Regions from separate parts of the Homo sapiens genome. Here region 1 is linked to region 2. The links are contacts of gene promoters, found by promoter capture Hi-C in blood cells and fetal thymus (Javierre and others, 2016). All regions are on one chromosome and are shown on one strand. Each heading gives the region's core, a stretch centred on a gene start or on the middle of the fragment in contact. The rest is flanking DNA. Distances are from core to core; before and after follow the strand shown.

Region 1 (7,638 bases), core at 247-2,746, 59 kb before region 2:
GGCTGTTACGCATGCAAGGATGACTCCTACTTCAAGGCCTTATTTTAGCTATTCTCTTGCTTTGGGACTTTCTTCTTCCAGATAACTGCTTGGCTAACTTCTTTGTCTCCAAGTCTTTGTTCAAATCTAACCTTAATGAGGACTATGCTGACCACCCTATTTAAAACTGCAACCTACATCCCTTCCACACAAACATACTCTGATTCCCCTTACCTCTGCTTTTTCTTTTGTTTTCATAGAACGTACCACCTTCTAACATACTCCATAACTTGCTGATTTATTCTGTTTATTGCTTATTGTCTGCCTTCCTGTGGTGGTTTTAAAATACGCCCACAAATTCTTTGCTACTCCTTCCTTCAAGAGGTGGAATTTAATCCTTTCCCCTTCGGTGTGGCCTGAACTTAATGACTTGTTTCTTGTTTTTTGTTGTTGTTGTTGTTTTGGTTTTTGTTTTTGTTTTTGTTTTTGAGACTCAATTCTGTCTCGCAGGCTGGAGTGCTGTGGCACGATCTCAGTTCACTGCAACTTCCGCCTCCCGGGTTGAAGTGATTCTCCTGCATCAGCCTCCCCAGTACCTGAGATTACGGGCGCATGCCACCACACCCGGCTAATTTTTTGTATTTTAAGTAGAGACAAGGTTTCACCATGTTGACTAGGCTGGTCTCGAACACCTGACCTCAAGTGATCCACCCGCCTCGCCCTCCCAAAGTGCTGGGATTACAGGCATGAGCCACCACACCTGGCCTAATGACTTGTTTCTAATGAATAGACTACGGTAGAAGCGACAAGGTGTGACTTCCAAGACTAGGTCATAAAAAACATTGCAAGAGGAGAAAAAAGCATTGTGTTTTCCTTGTTGTCCTCTCTCCTGAATCACGCAATCTGGGGGAAGCCACCTACCAAGTATGAAGACATACAAGCAGCCTTATGGAGAGGTTCATATGGTGAGGAACTGAGGCCTCATGTCAAAAACCAGCAAAGACCTAAGGCCTCCCGCCAATAGCCAGGTAAGTGAACCACCTTGGAAACTGCTCCTTCAGACCTAAGTTAAGCCTTTAAACTACTACATCCCCAGACACCATATTGACTACAACTTCATGAGACACCCTGAGCCAGAACTACCCATCTAAGCTGCTCCCAAATTATTGAGTCATAGGAAATGTGAGATAATAAATGTTTGTTGCTTTAAGCCACTAAATTTTGGGGTTATTTGTTACACTGCAATAATTAAGTAATACACTTCCCACTAGAATAAAAACTCCATGAAGATAGGACTCTGTTTTTTCACTGATATTAGGCTGAACCACATGAAATCATCATAGTCAAACACCGGCAATTTCATATAAATCAATCTAATATATCCCATGGAAACAGTGGTTCCTCTGGTGAGGGGAAATGAGTGGTTAGGGAATAAGGGTGGGAAAAAGAATTTTCAGCGTATAACCTTTTGTACCTTTTACTTCAAATGGTATAAAAAGTATTGCAGCCCACCGCCATGGCCGCCTACAAACTGGTGCTGATCCGGCACGGCGAGAGCACATGGAACCTGGAGAACCGCTTCAGCTGCTGGTACGACGCCGATCTGAGCCCGGCGGGCCACGAGGAGGCGAAGCGCGGCGGGCAGGCGCTACGAGATGCTGGCTATGAGTTTGACATCTGCCTCACCTCAGTGCAGAAGAGAGTGATCCGGACCCTCTGGACAGTGCTAGATGCCATTGATCAGATGTGGCTGCCAGTGGTGAGGACTTGGCGCCTCAATGAGCGGCACTATGGGGGTCTAACCGGTCTCAATAAAGCAGAAACTGCTGCAAAGCATGGTGAGGCCCAGGTGAAGATCTGGAGGCGCTCCTATGATGTCCCACCACCTCCGATGGAGCCCGACCATCCTTTCTACAGCAACATCAGTAAGGATCGCAGGTATGCAGACCTCACAGAAGATCAGCTACCCTCCTATGAGAGTCCGAAGGATACTATTGCCAGAGCTCTGCCCTTCTGGAATGAAGAAATAGTTCCCCAGATCAAGGAGGGGAAACGTGTACTGATTGCAGCCCATGGCAACAGCCTCCAGGGCATTGCCAAGCATGTGGAGGGTCTCTCTGAAGAGGCTATCATGGAGCTGAACCTGCCGACTGGTATTCCCATCGTCTATGAATTGGACAAGAACTTGAAGCCTATCAAGCCCATGCAGTTTCTGGGGGATGAAGAGACGGTGTGCAAAGCCATAGAAGCTGTGGCTGCCCAGGGCAAGGCCAAGAAGTGAAGGCCAGCGGGGAGGATACTGTCCCCAGGAGCACCCTCCCTGCTGGTCTTGTCCCTCTGCCCCTCCCACCTGCACATGTCACACTGACCACATCTGTAGACATCTTGAGTTGTAGCTGCAGATGGGGACCAGTGGCTCCCATTTTCATTTTAGCCATTTTGTCGCCTGCACCCACTCCCTTCATACAATCTAGTCAGAATAGCAGTTCTAGAGCACAGGTTCTCAGTCTAAGCTGTGGAAAAGCTCCCCTTATCCAACAGAGTTTAAAAGTAGTGACTTGGGTTTTTGTGAGTGCTTTGTTTACTAAGGACTTTGGGGAGGAACATGCTAAGCCACGACCAATGAGGAGAAGCAACAGAGCCTGTCTGTCCCCATGAGCAGAGTCTGTCCTCTGCTCTTCTGCAGTCAGGCCACTGCCTGGGGGCTCTAGTCATTCCAGTGGAAGATGAATGTAATCTGCATGGTGATGTGACAACTGTTTCCTCCTTGACCCCAGAGGATCTGGCTCTAGGTTGGGATCAATCCTGAATTTCGTTATGTGTTATATTTACTTTTATTAAAAAAGTATAGTATATATTAATAATACAAAACAATAACCCTTCTGGGGTTTCTTGTGGCGGTTGAAATAGTCCCACATGTGGTCATCAGAAAATAAGCCATTCCTCATACCAATATAGGATCAGCTCCTTGACCTCTGAGGGGCAGGAGTGCTTCCTGGTGTGTGTATTAGAATCCCTTCCTGCCTTGTTTCATGGCAGTGAAATGCCTCTTGGTCCTGTCCAAGTGTGTCTTTCACTGATTTCTGAATCATGTTCTAGTTGCTTGACCCTGCCACATGGGCCCAGTGTTCATCTGAGCATAACTGTACTAAATCCTTTTACCAGATCAGTATAATAAAGGAGTGATGTGCAATTAAAAAAAAAAAGTATTACAACATCATTTTAGTTTTGGTGAGCTCAGAGAAACTTAAGCAGAAAATGCTGAACCATGCCCGCTGCTACTAACAAAGCAAGATGATTAATGGACTCTTGTAACTTCTCCAACTAATTTCTGTGGAGCTTTGAACAATTAGACCACCCAGTCTATGGTATTATGTTATGGAAGCCTGAACTAAGACATATGCATTCTTTTTTAAATTGGGATATAATTCACATGCTATAAAATTCAGCCTTTTAACCTACAGAATGGGAGAAAACATTTTGCAATCTACCCATCTGACAAAGGTCTAATATCCAGAATCTACAAGGAACTTAAACAATTTACAAGAAAAAAACAACCCCATCAAAAAGTGGGCAAAGGATATGAATAGACATTTCTCAAAAGAAGACATTTATGCGGCCAACAAACATATGAAAAAAAGCTCAACATCACAGATCATCAGAGAAATGCAAATCAAAACCACAATGAGATACCATCTCACACCAGTCAGAATAGCAATTATTAAAAACTCAGGAAACAATAGATGCTGGTGAGGCTGTGGGGAAATAGGAACGCTTTTACACTGTTGGTGGGAATGTGAATTAGTTCAACTATTGTGGAAGACAGTATGGCGATTCCTCGAGGATCTAGAACCAGAAATACCATTTGACCCAGCAACCCCATTACTGGGTACATACCCAGAGGAATATAAATCATTCTACTATAAAGACACATGCACACGTATGTTTACTGCAGCACTATTTACAATAGCAAAGACTTGGAACCAACCCAAATGCCCATCAATGATAGACTGGAGAAAGAAAATGTGGTACATATACACCATGGAATACTATGCAGCCATACAAAGGAATGAGATCATGTCCTTTGCAGGGATATGAATGAAGCTGGAAACCATCATCCTCAGCAGACTAACACAGGAACAGAGAACCAAATGCTGCATGTTCTTGTTCATAAATGGGAGTTGAACAATGAGAACACATGGACACAGGGAGGGGAACATCACACACCGGAGCCTGCTGGGGGGTGAGGGGTGAGGGGAGGAAACTTAAAGGATGGGTCAATAGATGCAGCAAACCACCATAGCACACATGTACCTACGTAACAAACCTGCACGTTCTGCACATCTATCCTGGTTTTTTTTAGAAGAAATGAAAAAAATTCAGCCTTTTAAGGTATCCAGTTCAGTACTTTTTAGTACATTCACAAGGATGTGCAACCATAATGACTATGTAGTTGCAAAACATTTTCATTACTCCAAAAAGAAATCCCATGTCCATTAGCAACACTCCCCATTTCCTCTCTACTCACAGCCCCTGGCAAACACTAATTTTATTTCCTATCTCTACGGATTTGCCTATACGGCCATTTCATATAAATTGATTCATTCAATATGTGTCCTTGTGTGTCTGGATTCTTTCACTTAGCATAATGTTTTCAAGGTACATTGATGTGTAAAATGTATCGGTATTCCATTCTTTTCACTTTCTTGATGGTGTCCATTGAATCACAAAAGCTTTTAATTTGTGAAGTCCAATTTATCTTTTTTCTTTTGTGTTTTTTGTGTCATATCTAAGAAACCATTGCCACATTCAAACTTACGAATATTTACTGCTATGTTTTCTTCTAAGAGTTTTTGTAGTTTTGGCTCTTATATTTAGGTCTTTAATCCATTTTGAGTTAATTGTTGTACATGGTGTATGGTAAGGATCTGACATACATTGTTTTACATGTGGATGTCCTGTTTTCCCAACACCAGTTTTAAAACATTCTTGAGATGTAGTTCACGTATTATATAATTCGCACATTTAAAGTGTAGAATTCAATAGTTGTTAGCATATTCACAGACATGTGCAACCATCACCACAGGCAATTTCAGAACATTTTCATCACCTAAAAACAACAACAACAACAACAAAACATACCCCTTACCTATCAGTCATCACCTCCTAAGCCTTCTGTCCTGGGCAACCACTAATCTACTTTGCTTGTATAGATTTTCCTCTTCTGGACATTTCAGATGAATGAAATCATGTAATATGTGGTCTTTTGTGACTGACTTCTTTCATGTAGCATGTTTTCAGTGTTCATCCATGTTACAGCACATATCAGTACATCATTCCCTTTTATGGCTGAATAATATTCCACTGCATAGATACACCATAATTTATCTATTTGTCAGTTGATGAACATTTGGGTTGTTTCCATCTTTTGGCTATTATGAATAATGCTGCTATAAACATTCATGTACAAACTTTTGTGTTTTCATTTCTCTTTGGTAATACCTAAGAGTAGACTTGCTGGGTCATATAATAACTCTATGTTTAATTGTTTGAGGATCTGCCAGACTGTTTTCCAAAGTGACTGTACCATTTATACTCCCATGAGCAGTATATAAGGGCCCCAATTGTTCCACCTCCGATACCTATTATCTTTTTTATTCTACCCATCCTAGCAGGTGTGAAGTGGTATCTCATTGTGGTTTTGATTCACATTTCTCTGATTACTGATGATGTCAAGCATCTTTTCATGTGCTTATTGGGTATTTGTATATCTTCGAAGAAATGTCTATTCAAGCACTCTACCCAATTTTTAATAAGGTTATTTTGTTGTTGTTGTTGAGTTGTAAGAGTTCTTTATATTCTTGGATATTAATCCCTTATCAGATATATGACTTTCAAATACTTTCTCCTATCCAGTTGGTTGTCTTTCACTCTTTTTTTTTGAAATAAAATTTGCTTTTAATAAAAATTTATTTTGTACATTTTTAAAATTGCAATTTTCAGGACATGTAAGAAAAATATTTTTCCTCATACTGAAATAAGCATATCTTTGGTATAGAAATCACACCCTGTGTGTGATCTTTTAACTTAAAAAAAAAAAAGTCCAGTGCTTTTACATTGTTGGCGGGAGTGTAAATTAGTTCAACCATTGTGGAAGACAGTGTGATGATTCCTCAAGGATCTAGAACTAGAAATACCATTTGACCCAGTAATCCCATTACAGGATATATACCCGAAGGATTATAAATCATTCTACTATAAAGACACATGCACATGTATGTTTATTGAGGCACTATTCACAATAGCAAAGACTTGGAACCAACCTAAATGTCCATCAATAACAGACTGGATAAAGAAAATGTGGCACATATACACCATGGAATACTCCGCAGCCATAAAAAAGGATGAGTTCATGTCCTTTGCAGGGACATGGATGAAGCTGGAAACAATAATTCTCAGCAAACTATCACATGAACAGAAAACCAAACACTGCATGTTCTCACTCGTAAGTGGGATTTGAACAATGAGAACACACAGACATAAGGAGGGAAGCATCACACACTGGGGCCTGTCGGGGGGTGGGGATTAGGCGAGGGATAACATTAGGAGAAATACCTAATGTAGGTGATGGGTTGATGGGTGCAGCAAACCACCATGGCACGTGTATACCTATGTAACAAAACTGCATGTTCTGCACATGTACCCCAGAACTTAAAGTATAAAAAAAAAAGTCCAGAACTAGACCTAATATGCTAAACAAAACTATTCTTTGGCCATCCATCTGCAGCCTTTCAATGCACCATTGTGGAGCTTCAGAATATCATTCTGTACACATCACCATATCTACAAAGAATTAAGATGTCATATCAAAGATATCCAGAAGTTATATATGGTACAGAATTAGTTGGCTTAATCATTCACACATAATACAAACTACCAAAAAGCGACATAAGATACAGAACAAATAAAATAGGACATTGTCACTAAGGTCAAATAATATAAAAACAATCATGTTATTTAAATTTGATGTATTGGAAGCAAAGTAACTTAGAGTTATGTAAATAACTTGTAAAGCTCCAAAATTCATAGTACAGAGCCATAAATCTGATAAGGCACTTTAAAGACAGCAATCAAACATATAAAAATACCGAAAACAAAAAATATTAAGTGTAAAAGCAGTAACCATAGAAATAAATAGGAAAAAAAATTCGTTCTTTCTAGACAGTCTTTCATTTTCTGAAATAAAGACTTCTTAGCTGGGTGCAGTGGCTCACGCCTGTAATCCCAGCACTTTGGGAGGCCGAGGCGGGTGGATCACTTGAGGTCAGGAGTTCGAGACCAGCCTGGTCAATATGGTGAAACCTTGTCTCTACTAAAAATACAAAAAATTAGCCGGGTATGGTGGCACACGCCTGTAATCCCAGCTACTAGGGAGGCTGAGGCAGGAGAATCACTTGAACCCAGGAGGCAGAGATTGCAGTGAGCCAAGATCGCACCACTGCACTCCAGCCTGGGAGACAGAATGAGACTCTGTCTCAAAAAAAAAAGACTTTTTAAAATAATCATTTGAGGACAAAAGTATTTATCATGTTTTTAAAAGCTATCATCAAAGTTAAAATCTCTGTGAAAAAGATAACATTTTCCTTCAAGTCAACAAAG
Region 2 (7,307 bases), core at 107-2,606:
TCAGTCAGTGGGGCTGCTAGAAACCGTTGTCTTCATAGCTGAATTCAACTGACTCAATTCGGACTCAATTGTATGTAAACTGTTTATTTTTCTTTCTTCTTTTTTGGAGACAGTTTCGCTCTTGTAGCCCAGGCTGGAGTGCAGTGGCACGATCTCGGCTCACTGCAACATCCGCCTCCCAGGTTCAAGCGATCCTCTTGCCTCAGTCTCCCGACTAGCTGGGATTACAGGCGCCCGCCACCACGCCCAGCTAATTTTTGTATTTTTAGTAAAGACAGGGTTTCGCCATGATGGCCAGGCTGGTCTCGATCTCCTGACCTCAGGTGATCCACCCTCCTCGGCCTCCCAAAGTGTTGGTATTACAGGTGTGTCAGACACTGCGCCCAGCCTACTGTAAGTAAACTCTTTTGAGGCCAGGAACTCTGTCTTATTTCTTGTGCATCACCCCCTCCCCACCACCCCCCCGCACCCGGCAAAAAAAAAAAAAAATTAATAACCTCAGTATCATCTAATTCAATGTTCTGCACATATTCTCAATACAAAGCCATACTATTGTAGATAAAGAGTCTGTGATTAAAATAAAGATCAGATCCTGGACAAACGCTGAATTGTGAAACGATAAGTGTTTGTGCTTAAGATAATCTCAACGTCTACAACGAAGAAAAGTGTCAAAGATAAGATGCCACAGGGTCGGACAATGGACAGTAACTTTACTGGAAAGGGGGCACAATGAACAAAACTAAGTGGAAACAAGAGTTCTCTCAGTTTACCTTACGCTCCCAGAGCAAGACAAGAAGCCAAATATCTATTTTTCAATTATTATTTCATCAATTATGGTCATTTTAGTAACCTTAGCTTCCAAAGTATAAAGAGGTGTCACTAAGCAAAGACCCCAGTCCATGTGACTTTCAATGCCAAACACAAACTTTCTTGTACCCTCAATTAATTGGGTAACGTAGGCCATGGATGATCAGGACATTCTCTCCAAGAGGGTACAAGAAAGTGACACAGGTCAGGATTTAATTTCCCCTCCTCTATCCCCTGTTAGGGGAGGTAAAACATAAATGTAGTTAATACCTGAATTGTGAATAAGTGAAACTTTCGAGACTGCCCCAGACTAACATGACCTTCTCACCACACTCGTAGTACAAACTGACAGCACAGAAGACCCCCTCCAGGAGAAAGGACGACGGGAAGCCAATGTAGGACTTACCTGGTTTCTCTATCCTATGGTTAAACCTCTGGAGCTACGCAGACCGTGGCAGCGATAAATCCACGTACGCAGGCTCCAACAAAGCTCACACAATCGGAGAAGTCACAGTAGCTGCGGCTGCGGCGGCGGCAGCAACAACTCCTCCCTCTGCTTCTCTTTTCCCACCCCCCGCCGCGGCGGCCAGCCGCCTTTACCCCTCCCTCCCTCGACTACCCCCACTTCCGGGTGATGCCCCTGCCGGAAGCAGGGCCGCCACGGGAAAGAGAGCGACTGGTCACGTGAAAAGGAACGCGTGGTCTAGAGCCAGCTTCTCCTGCCCCCTGCTGCCCCCGGGCCGACACGCAGCCTCGAGTGGGTCTTTGTTAGGGTACGAGTCCACTATCCCACCCCGCCCCCACGACAAAAGCGAAACCAGAAAACCCATACTAAAACAGTGCCTTTGTCATCTTTAGTTTCCTAACCTCAGGCCAAGATGTAACATAAAAGATCCTTATAAGTCATCTTCCACATAGTTCATCTTTGCCTAGCATGAAATTCACGTGCATCTGTTAGACTGTGTTAACTGCCAAGATGTAACATAAAAGCTCCTTATAAGTCATCTTCCACATAGTTCATCTTCGCCCAGCATGAAATTCACGTGCATCAGTTAGACTGTGTTAACTGCCAAGATGTAACATAAAAGCTCCTTATAAGTCATCTTCCACATAGTTCATCTTCGCCCAGCATGAAATTCACGTGCATCTGTTAGACTGTGTTAACTTGCTTCCCGTAGACTGTGTAGCCTAATTCCAGATGTAAGTGCCAGAACTATGAATTTATCCTCTTCCCTCCATTGAAAAATTACATCAAGAGGAAAATGTTTATAAATTCATAATTTTTATATGTGTGTTGAGGGGGTAGGGACGTCACTTCACCACCTTCATAGCGCCATTCCAAGCTCTGAACCACTCCCCCATTTATTCATTCACTCGTCCATCATTTTACACACCTAGAAGATTCCGGTGATGCAAAAGTGTTACAGTCTCTGTTACCATGAGTTCATTTAGAAATGAGATGCATAAAATGTAAACAATGCAATAAATGGTACAGAAAACATTTGAAAAAAGGGTCATTTTATTCTTGCTTTCCAACTTAACATTTTGAAAAGCAGCAAAATTCTAGGATTTTTAAAACTATGAACATTAACAGTAAAAAGAGGGAGAGGCTCCATCTCACTTATTTCAAAGCAAGATGTGGCCTTTTCATATTTCCTTTCATGAAGTATCTGTCATAAGATGTAGAACAAAACTAATCACAGGACTATTTGTATTTTCATCTGGAACCATTTGAACCCAGTTCCCACAGAAGAGTATGAAGCCTAATAATGTTGCAGAAATCAAAATAGTACACAAAATACAAATATCAAGTAAATATTTGTAAAAGACTTAGAACAGCGTCCGGCACAAAGTAAGCATATTTAAGTGTTGAAATAATTTCCATCCTAGCTGTTGTCAAGTCCCTATTAAGCCTTGACAGGCAACATTTAAAATTACCCATAGATCTACATTTTAGGTCTGTGATTAAGTATTTCAGAATTATTATCCCCCTCCACACTCATCCACATAAATATAAAATTAGCCTCAGGACTCATCTTCCCAGGCATTATTTTGTAGTTGTCAATGTGTGCAGCCTTAATTATTAAGATACAAACTCAGCCCCAAATTTAAAATCTTAAAAATCACATCATATGAAATGAAGATAGCTTTTAAGTGGGTTTCCAAATATTAGCAAGTTGGTTTGTAACTATATTAACATTGTGTTAAGCATCCAAAAGAAATTCACTAAAAGGCAAAACCAAAAATATATCTTTTTCAGAAGCAGAACATTGAATCTACTAGCTATCTAGTATTTTTATGTAAATACTAAAGTTTATCACTATGAGCTGCAAGATCCTCTGCCAACCATGTACATTCTTAGGCACTCTAATATTTAACATAAAAACCTAGAGAGCTATATATATATTTTGTTGTTGTTTGGTTTTGAGAGTCTTGCTGTCACCCAGGCTGGAGTGCAGAAGTGTGATCATAGGTCCTTGTAACCTTAAACTCCGGGGCTAAAGCGATCCTTGCACCTCAGCCTCCCAAGTAGTTGGAACTATGGGCACACACCACCACACCTGGCTAGTTTTTATTTTTTTGTGTGTGGAGATGGGAGTCTCCCTTTGTTGCCCAGGCTGGTCTCGAACTCTTGGCCTCAAATGATCCTCCCACCTCAGCTGCCCAAAGTGCTGGGATTACAGATATGAGCCACCAGGCCCAGCCTAAAACTCTTGTCTTTAAATGCATCATCCCTAATCCTCCTTACCAATGCACAAGCATAGAAGGGAATGTCTTCAAGAAATAATCAGGTTTGCTGGGGGTTGAGCAGACAGCAGGTGTCCCTAAAATGCTTATGAAGTGTATTAATAACCCCAGTGACATTAAGCCAGGAGGATGGGAACTCAACATCTGTACCTCTACAACTACCACAGTACCCGTGTCTAGGTAAGTTAAAATGAATCTAAAATAACAGAACACAGGTGCTACAATAATTCTGTCCTAGAGTGAAATTAAGAATGAGATTTATGAGGTTGGGCACCGTGGCTCACGACTGTAATCCCAGCACTTTGGGAGGCCGAGGCAGGTGGATCGCCTGAGGTCAGGAGTTCGAGACCAGCCTGGCCAACATGACAAAACCCTGTCTCTACTAAAAATATAAAAATTAACCAGGTGTGATGGTGGGCGCCTGTAATTCCAGCTACTTGGGAGGCCGAGGCAGAATCCCTTGAACCCAGGAGGCGGAGGTTGCAGTGAGCCAAAATCACACCACTGAACTCCAGCCTGGATGACAGAGCAAAACTCGGTCTCAAAAAAAAAAAAAGAATGGGATTTATGACATTAACCCTAATGTTAAAATATTTCACAGCCATCCAAATAGAGTTTAAAGGATTGGCAATGATTTTAAGGTAAGTAACTTACCTAAATTCTTCAGACTTACAGATACTTGAGGACAGAGGACTAATTTGACGACTTTCCAACTCTAGGTATGACTGAAACTCAAAGCGATGTTACGGGTAAGTTGAGAAAATTTGTGTGAAAGGATATTTTCATGGCTCTGAGAGCACTAGGAAAGCTCCAAGGTCAGTATATACTGTGATGGCACACACACACAAAAAACTGCTTCATTTCTAGTAGTGGTCATAAGTTTTAGAATTACTCATCAGGATAAGATTAACTACAAAATTAAGTTCAAAAAGTGTGTTCAAAGTTACTACCACCACCAGGTTTTATCACACAAAGCAACATATAATTTTGATCACAAATGGACACAGAAAACATTCTAAATTGTCATACAGATGACAACTATCACTTAGCTTAGTACAAACCATACTGAAACTGCTTCCACGTCGTGAGAAATAAGTGTTAATTCAGTGACAAAAAGGTATATAATTGAAGGTTGACACTTCCTTAAATACATGTTTATTTTACTTCAATATCGCTCAGGGTTGTATGTATTTGAATACTTCAGTACTATTTTGAACATTCTAAATATGAAATACCATAAAGCGTTCAAATTTATCAAACAGTGGTACAATATGGTTACTAAACTTGCAACTTAATTTACAATGACGTTCAATTTTTCCTCTTCAAATAAAATCACTGACTTTGGTCCATTTGATGAGAAACTAGGACATATGCCATGACAGCATACTTCTAGCACTCTATGTAATAAGCAAAAGATAATTTAGCTAATATAGACAGGTTACCTGACTGAAATTCTACTTTCTGCTTAATTGATCACGATCAAGAAAACTACAAAAAAAAAACAAAAAACAAAACAAAACAACTACCACAGACTACAGCTCTCAGCCAAGAAAGTAATGATATATAAGCCGGGCGCGGTGTCTCATGCCTGTAAGCCTAGCACTTTGGGAGGCTGAGGTGGGTGGATCGCCTGAGGTCAGGAGTTCAAGACCAGGTTGGCCAACATGGTGAAACCCCATCTCTACTAAAAATACAAAAATTAGCCAGGCATGGTGGCAGGCGCCTGTAATTCCAGTTACTAGGGAGGCTGAGACAGGAGAATCACTTGAATCCGGGAGGCAAAGGTTGCAGTGTGTCAAGATCACACCACTGCACTCCAGCCTGGGCAACAGAGTGAGACTTCATCTCAAAAAAGAAAAACAAAGAAATATGTGGTACAGATATTGCTCTTCTTCAGGTAACATACATAAAATCCAATGTTATATACTAAAATAATAATCCACAAATCCAAACATTGTTATAATTATACAACAGGTGACTGATAGTAGATAACTAGGAACAGACTGCATTTGACAAGATTTTCTTTAATAACATCATAAACATCCCTAATATGATGAAAGACCAAGAGCTATAATCAAGATGAATATGCCAAAACAGCCAAGGAGCTAGTAGCTAGTCTTCAGACAGGCTACGAGTTTGTTTTATAGGACCACTCCGCCCTTGGGTCTGGTGACACTTTAAGTTTTCTAGGCAGGAGTGAAAAGGAGTTAATAATGCCAATTCCAGGTATAAATACAAATGAGAGGCACATAGTAGTAGGCATAACCAAAATCCAGGCCAAATTTTTGGCTCAAAGGTGATCTGCAATAGTTCCATGATCAGTTATTTATAATTTCAGCTTACTATAAAGTTGACTTCCAGGTCAAAGGCAAATTTTCCTTTCACATTACCTCATAAAAGCCATTTAAGGGCTGGGTGCCGTGGCTCACGCCTGTAATCCTACCACTTTGGGAGGCCAAGGCAGGCGGATCACCTGAGGTCGTGAGTTTGAAACCAGCCTGACCAATATGGTGAAACCCTGTCTCTACTAAAAATACAAAAATTGCCGGGCACGGTGGCTCACACCTGTAATCCCAGCACTTTGGGAGACCAAGGTGGGTGGATCACGAGATCAGGAGCTCGAGACCAGCCTGACCAACATGGTGAAACCCCGTCTCTACTAAAAATACAAAAATTAGCCGGGCCTGGTGGCGTGCACCTGTAATCCCAGCTACTTGGAAGGCTGAGACAGGAGAATCGCTTGAACCCGGGAGGCGGAGGTTGCAGGAGCCGAGATCACGCCATTGCATTCCAGCCTGGGCAACAGAGTGAGACTCCGTCTCAAAAAAAAAAAAAATTAGCTGGGCGTCATGGCATGTGCCTGTAGTTCTGGCTACTCGGGAGGCTGAGACAGGAGAATCACTTGAACTCAGGAGGCAGAGGTCGCAGTGAGCTGAGATGGTGCCACTGCACTCCAGCCTGGGGGACAAAGTGAGACTTCGTCCCAAAAAAAAAAAAAAAAAAAAAAAAAAACCTATTTAAGAAGCTGCACAGCATTTGACTTTAATATTAACATAAAGGCTAAAGTGATCAAGCTTAGTTTCATTTACAAAGAAACAAAACCTACAATGAAGGTTTCAAATGTACTTTATTTCTTCAATAATGCCATATCTTAATGGGTACACAGTGCTTTAATTTGGCATCAATTATGAGCTGTTTTTTAAACAATTCATTATTACACCAGCTGGGATGATTACTGATTCCTCCATTCCTTTGGGGTAACTCTGCCAACAGGGGACAGGTTCCATTCTATTCCGACTTGTGTTGCTACCTGTAAGAATTAAAATGCTGTCAGTTACGTGTTTAAACCAGAGTACACTCTCTCGGAGACTATTTCTTGAAAATGACAGATATTCTGTTCTATAGGTTAAAAATACACAGAAACTCACCTGGGATCTAATACCCTCCATATAGGCCAAACCTGATTGCTGTCCTAATTTTCTAGAGCAGTCCTGTTGTTCAATAGAACTTCTTGAGCTGAAGGAAATGTTCTAGATCTTCACTGTTAAAAACAGTAGTCACTAGCTACATGTGGCTACTAGCCACCTGGAATATGACTAGTATCACCAAGGAAATGAATTTTTAAATTTTATTTAATTCAAATTTATACTTCACATTTCTATACTACCCACTCAATACACTGATTCCCTCAACCACAACTACCTAAGTAACTGCCAGAGTATTTTATATTCTCTGTATCACTAAGGAACATT

The links. The method cuts DNA at HindIII sites, captures the fragments that hold promoters and counts their contacts. A CHiCAGO score of 5 or more calls a contact.
Region 1: the fragment with the promoter of PGAM4 here is called in contact with the fragment with the promoter of ATP7A in region 2 in 13 of 17 cell types (neutrophils, M2 macrophages, naive CD8 T cells and 10 more); the score reaches 9.0 in neutrophils.

What each region holds. Positions count from the first base shown.
Region 1 is chrX:77,963,496-77,971,133 of GRCh38, reverse strand. PGAM4 (phosphoglycerate mutase family member 4) reads left to right here and starts at 1,496. Exons shown (of 1, transcript NM_001029891.3): 1 at 1,496-3,185. The coding sequence starts at 1,496. The coding sequence ends at 2,260. All of the region lies in intron 1 of ATP7A (ATPase copper transporting alpha), which reads right to left. It also overlaps the pseudogene C4orf46P2. The HindIII fragment of the contact is 8,998 bases long and covers 1-4,714 here.
Region 2 is chrX:77,904,742-77,912,048 of GRCh38, reverse strand. It overlaps ATP7A (ATPase copper transporting alpha), which reads right to left and starts at 1,356. Exons shown (of 23, transcript NM_000052.7): 1 at 1,214-1,356. It overlaps COX7B (cytochrome c oxidase subunit 7B), which reads right to left. Exons shown (of 3, transcript NM_001866.3): 3 at 4,673-6,865. The coding sequence ends at 6,788. The HindIII fragment of the contact is 7,135 bases long and covers 1-6,631 here.